Regions from separate parts of the Homo sapiens genome. Here region 2 is linked to region 1. Evidence: promoter capture Hi-C in human tissues and cell types (Jung and others, 2019). All regions are on one chromosome and are shown on one strand. Each heading gives the region's core, a stretch centred on a gene start or on the middle of the fragment in contact. The rest is flanking DNA. Distances are from core to core; before and after follow the strand shown. Region 1 holds the start of TRUB2 (TruB pseudouridine synthase family member 2). Region 2 overlaps SPTAN1 (spectrin alpha, non-erythrocytic 1).

What was found. The method cuts DNA at HindIII sites, captures the fragments that hold promoters and counts their contacts. A contact is called where the count stands out against the background at its distance.
Region 2: a fragment that was not itself captured here is called in contact with the fragment with the promoter of TRUB2 in region 1 in 1 of the 25 tissues and cell types used here (heart right ventricle).

Annotation. Positions count from the first base shown.
Region 1 is chr9:128,320,924-128,323,792 of GRCh38, reverse strand. TRUB2 (TruB pseudouridine synthase family member 2) reads left to right here and starts at 1,346. Exons shown (of 8, transcript NM_015679.3): 1 at 1,346-1,493; 2 at 2,063-2,194. The coding sequence starts at 1,385. It overlaps COQ4 (coenzyme Q4), which reads right to left and starts at 954. Exons shown (of 7, transcript NM_016035.5): 1 at 865-954; 2 at 646-777. The coding sequence starts at 934. RefSeq lists a silencer at 667-726 and an enhancer at 1,107-1,646. The HindIII fragment of the contact is 10,812 bases long and covers 1-2,869 here.
Region 2 is chr9:128,625,575-128,628,443 of GRCh38, reverse strand. SPTAN1 (spectrin alpha, non-erythrocytic 1) reads right to left here. Exons shown (of 57, transcript NM_001130438.3): 48 at 2,466-2,675; 49 at 1,757-2,053; 50 at 946-1,058; 51 at 502-519. Among named protein-coding and RNA genes, the nearest start is that of DYNC2I2, 30 kb to the left of the region's middle. RefSeq lists an enhancer at 777-1,422. The HindIII fragment of the contact is 6,522 bases long and covers 1-2,869 here.

The DNA of each region.
Region 1 (2,869 bases), core at 97-2,596:
TTTGTAGAGATGGGGATTCACCGTGTTGCCCAGGCTGGTTTCAAACTCCTCAGCTCAAGCCATCTGCCCGCTTCGGCCCCCCGATAGGGATTATAGGCGTGAGCCACTATAATAGCGCCTAGCCTGTTTTTGTTAGTAGGAATAACAGTACTTCCCAGAACTCAAAAATCTAGGAGGCATAAGAAAAACACTGTAGAACCCTAGAATGTTCTAGTCACACATCCAGCAAACATTTATTGAGCATTTACTATGTGCCAGGCACTATCCAGAAGGCTGCAGATGCAGTGGAACGAGGCAGACATGGTCCTCGACCTCGGAGTTGACTTTCTAGTAGGATATTATAAACTGATCGGTACTTATGAATCATCTATTTAGTCTAGATGTTCTCAATATGGCTGCATGACAGATTCTCCCAAGTAGTTTAAAGACAGACTTTCGGTTTCACGCCCATTTCTCCCTCCACTGCAGATTCAGATTCAGATTCAGTGCGTTTAGGTGGGATCCAGGAATCTGCATTTTCATAAACGTTCCGAGTGGTTACGAGCTGCAACCAGGTTTGGGTACCCCGACCTAGGCTATGTTCCAGTTACCCACAGGAAACGGCTCCAAGCCGCCCCCACGGGGGCGAGGCGCGGGCGGCCTTACCGTGGCGGTAGGGGTTATAGAGCGCCATCGCCGCGGAGCCGGCGGCCAACAGCCCTTTCTGCAGCGGGGAGGTGGGGAGGTGGTGCGAGTATAGCGGGCCGGCGCCGTCGCTCCTAGCCCGGAGGGGCATTTCTGCGGGGCAAGAAAAAGGCCGAGGTCAGAGGAGCCGGGCGCCCTCAGGCTCCTTCCCGCCTGCGCCCAGAACCCGGCGCCACTTGCCTGCCGCAGGCCGCTGTAGGCCCGGGAGCCCGCAGAGCCGACGGAGGACAGGGCGCAGCAGAGTCGCCATGGCAGCGGGCGTCCGCGGAGGATGGGCGGGTACGAAGAACGCCGCGATTCTGTCAGGCGACGGAGCGTCGGAGGGGTCAAAACTCACTGAAAAACCGATTCTGACGGCGTAGCCTACGGCCTTTCGAGGGGAAACATCGCTTCACGGGCAGAAGGCATGTAGGCCAAGTAGGCGAAGGAAACGCACGCGAACTGTCTACCGTCTACGTCCACCGATCCAAGACTCTCGCCATGTCACCTCGCCCCAGAAAGTGTCTGCAAAGGACACGCAACCACGCTCACTCAGCGCCGGGCCCTATTTCCTTCTCCACAGCCGGTTTTCCCCGAAGACTATAAAATGCGAACCTCTTCCGGCTGTGGAACATGGCGGCGCCCGTGGAAAGGACCACATTTGGGGGCGGGGCCTGGCGGTACTTCCGTCCAGGTCCAGCGGGTGCTGTGATCTTCAAGTATGGGGTCTGCTGGCTTGTCGCGGCTGCATGGGCTTTTCGCGGTCTATAAGCCCCCGGGGCTAAAATGGAAGCACCTGCGGGATACAGTGGAGCTACAACTTCTGAAGGGTGAGTGCCTCGAACCAGACCCACGTTCCCGCTCTCGTTCTCTTGGAAGTCCATCTCCGCTTCTGGTCCTTACCCCAAAACAAAATCACGTGACCTATTCACCTGGGCAGAGCGCTTTCCCAAACGCCTGTTCTCTGTGCTTTCTTACTCCTCACTTTCCTCTGTTTTCCGAGGGGGAAACTGACTCAGTATTGTTCCTTGTCACACGGTTACTACGTTGTAGAGTCTGTTTGAATCCGCCTGTTTCTTAACTACTGCTATACTGCCCTCTGCACCATGGGCTTCTGCTTTGTCTTCTACATCATACTTCCCTGTTGTCTAATCCCCCAAGTGTTTGGACAGAACAAGATATTCCTGGTCAGCATCGTGGTGCACGCCTGTAATCCCAGCTACTCTGGAGGCTGAGGCAGGAGGATCGCTTGAGCCCAAGAGTTTGACGTTACAGTGAGCTATGATGGCGCCATTGCACTTCAGCCTGGGCTACAGAACGAGGCCCTGTCTCTTAAAAAATATTTTATATGTACATATATTTGTATGTATGTGTGTATATATTATCTCTGTGTGTTCAGGTCTCAATGCCAGGAAGCCTCCCGCTCCTAAACAGCGTGTTCGCTTCTTGCTGGGCCCCATGGAAGGCAGCGAAGAGAAGGAGCTGACCCTCACAGCCACCAGCGTACCCTCTTTCATCAACCATCCACTGGGTAAGGCAGATTTAAGCAGGATCCTGTGTGTCACTTCCCAGGAAATCCCTGAGCCGAGTCAGTGTCCCAGTGCTCAGATTCCTGTGCCAGGCCCTTGAAGGTCCACAGAGGAGTGAGGTATTAGACCAGGAATTGGCAGATTTCCTTGGAAAGGGCCAGATACTGAATGTTTTAGTTTTCAGGCCATGTGATTTCCGTTGGAACTGCTCAACTCTGCCAATGTAGTGCCAAACAGCTATAGACAGTATCTAAAGGAATGAGCCTAGCTGTATTCCAATAGAACTTTATGAATATTCATATTTGAACTTCAGGTAATTTTCACGTGTCACTAAGTACAGTTGCCTCTGAGTCCATGAGTTCCACATCCCATGATCCAGCTTCAGATTGGCAGTATTTGGGAAGAAAAACACAAAGTTCCAAAAAGCAAAACTTGAATTTGCTGTGCACCTAGTACTGTGTTGAATCCACTCAAGGTGATGCATAGGCATTATATTAGGCATTATAAGTAATCTAGCTAGGCGTGGTGGCTCACGCCTGTAATCCCAGCATTTTGAGAGGCCGAGGAGGGTGGATCATGAGGTCAAGAGATCGAGACCATCCTGGCCAACATGGTGAAACCCCGTCTCTACTAAAAATACAAAAATTAGCCGGGAGTGGTGGCAGGCGCCTGTAGTC
Region 2 (2,869 bases), core at 370-2,869, 300 kb before region 1:
AAAGTAAAGTGGCAGCCTCAGCTACTTAGGGGGTGTCAGTGCCCAGCCCTTCTCAGCTGTGGACTTACTGTACCCTGCCTGAGCCCCCAGCACTGCCATCTGCTTCATGCCCACTGACCACTGTTGGACTCGCTGGGGAAGCAGAGGTGAGAGCCCAACAGAGCCCGGTGGCTGGACAGGCACGGGGGTTCTTAGGGCCTCTGGACTCCAGCTCTGGCCTTCGTGCTTCATCACCTTCCCTACCCAAAGTGAGCCCTTGGAATCGCCCAGTGAGGCAAGGACGGCTCCCCCTGGCTTGAAGGCTCTATCGGGGACCAGGGACCATGGGCTATGGGGCAAGGCACACACTCCTCATCAGGTGACGAGAAGGGTGGGAGGGGAAGTGCAGCCCGCCCTGGGCAGGAAGGCCCATCCCGGGATCCTCCACAAGCCAGGCCACGAGGGGCAAGCGCACGAGACCCCCACATGACAAGCCCAGAGAAGGAAGAAAACAATATTAACCCATCGAGGAGGTATGTCCTGTGGAGAGCAGATCCAAGCAGCCGGGAGACAAGGTGGTGTCCGGACAACAGCAGCAATCGGGGGGACAGAGAGAAGACACAAGAAAGAAAGGAAAACAAAAGCAAGAACATCAGTACCCAACGCACAGACCCTGCATCGTCTGTCACCAAGTCATGGCTGGGGCTGACCACGCGCCCTGCATGGTCCCACTCAATCCGGGATCTCTAACAACTTGATGTCTGGGACATGCAGCACTGAGAGGCTGCTCCACCTATGCCCCCACTCCCGGCTCCAGAGCCCGACCAGGCGTTGCCAGCCCAGCTTTATTCCCAGGCTGCCTCTGGTTTTACACAAAGCACCACCACCTCCTTGGGGCTGGAAGCTCCCCAGGGCTTAAGTACAGCAGGGACATGCTGCTGCTCCCCGGCCCCAGCGGGCTGGCACCTGGTCTCTTGGATCCACTGGTGGAAGGCGTTGGCGTGCTGGGCAAACTCCTGGCGCAGCTTGTCGTTCTCCTCCTGCCGCCGCTGTTCCTTCTGCAGCTCCAGCTCCCTCTCCTGAGGGCCAAAGGGGGGCAGATGCTGTGCGCTGCTGTGGCAGTGACACCAGCCCCTCCTTCACAGATGGGCTCAGGGTGGTGGTGGCCTCCCCACAAGGAACCTCCCCAAAGATGAGAGGAGGAGGCTGGGAGACATGAGGCCGGCTCAGAGCACTTGGTAGTTCTTTCTCTGTTCCCACCCCCCAGGGGCTTCAAGGAAGAGGCGGACCTGGAGGGAAGCGACTGGTCAGTCAAGCAGGGAGTTGCTGGACTGTCAGAAATGGAAACTTCTGGCTGGGTACAGTGGCTCACACCTGTAATCCCAGCACTTTGGGAGGCCTGGGCAGGAGGACTGCTTGAGGCCAGGAGTTGAAGACCAGCCTGGGCAACATAGCAACACCCTGTCTACAAAAATTAAAATAATTAGCCAGGCGTGGTGGCACGTGCTTGTAGTCCCAGTTATTCAAGAGGCTCAGGCAAGAGGATCACCTGAGCCTGGGAGGTTGAGGCTACAGGGAGCCATGGTAGCACCACTGCACTGAAGCCTGGGTGACAGAGACCCTGCCTCAAGAACACAAAAAGAAATGAAACTTCTGATGAAACCATGCTCCTCCATCCTGCTCGTCTTGTCGTGACTCAGTTAAGTGTGGGCTCTGAGCAGGGCCCAGAGAGGGCTCTGGGAGGCCGAGCAGCTCCTGAGGGCAGCGGGAGGTGTACCTTGATGATTTTCTGTAGGTTCCTCCAGGTCTCCTCCAGGGCCTCCATGGTAAACCAGGTGTAGGGGTTGGAGGCTACGCGGAAGCTCTTGATCTGGCGGTCCAGCTCGGCCAGCTGGTTGAAGTCAGCCTGGGCAGAGCTGAGGGAGGAGCGGAAGGCGTCGTGGGCCTCGCGCAAAGCTTTGATTTCTTCCAAGGAGTTGCAGCGCACGGGGTCTGTTAAGTCCTCCTCTGCATTTTCAAACCAGCTGTTGAAGGCAGAAGCCTTTTTGGCGAAGGTCAGGAAGAGGTCCTCCACCTGGAAGCAGAAGAGACTGAGTTGGCGGAGTCGCCAGGGCTGGACGTGCCGACGCAGTGCAGGAGGTGGGGTGCGGGGTGGTTCCTGGGAATCAGAGGCGCACACAGCCTGCTGGGAGCTTAGCTCCCCTCTGCTCCTGTCTCCTGCTCCCCCTTCAAGTCTTCACCAGCCTTTTTTCCCCTTCCTACCCTTTGCCCTTGTCTCTAGTCTGTCCTGCGTGCTTCTGAATGGCGATCTCACAGGGCCCTCTCATTTGCCCTGGTTTTAATTGATGCCAGCCACACCCATGTTTGAAAGCTCTGCACTGAGCTCACAGCTTCCTCAAGGGGGAGTGGCAGAGCTGGGCAGACAGAAGGTGGGCGTCCTTCCTTGAGCTGTGGGCCAGCTAAGCTTCACGTGGCCCCATCCTCACCTTGCGGAAGTGACTCTGAGCCTCCAGAAGCTTCTTCTTGCGGGCGGCTGAGTTGGCCAGAAGCTGGCTCCACCTCTTCATGAGGGAGGCGTGCCGGGCCTCGATGGCCTTGGACTGAACGTGTTTGGCGGCGAGAAGCTGATCTTTGAGGGCAGTGATGTTGGCAATGCCTTCCTGCTGGAAGGCCTGCAGCCCAGCGTCAAAAGTTTCCTGAACAAGGAGTGACAAGCCAATTTGTGGTGACTCCACAGGACTGGAACTTGCTCTTCCTAGGCTCAGATGGCACCAGCATGTCCCCCAGATGCCCAAGCCAAACTGTCCACCTGGACACTGCTGAGACTCAGTCACACATGCCCCCTTTCCTGCTCTCCTTCAGACCGCAGATCACTGCGGCAGCCTCCTCC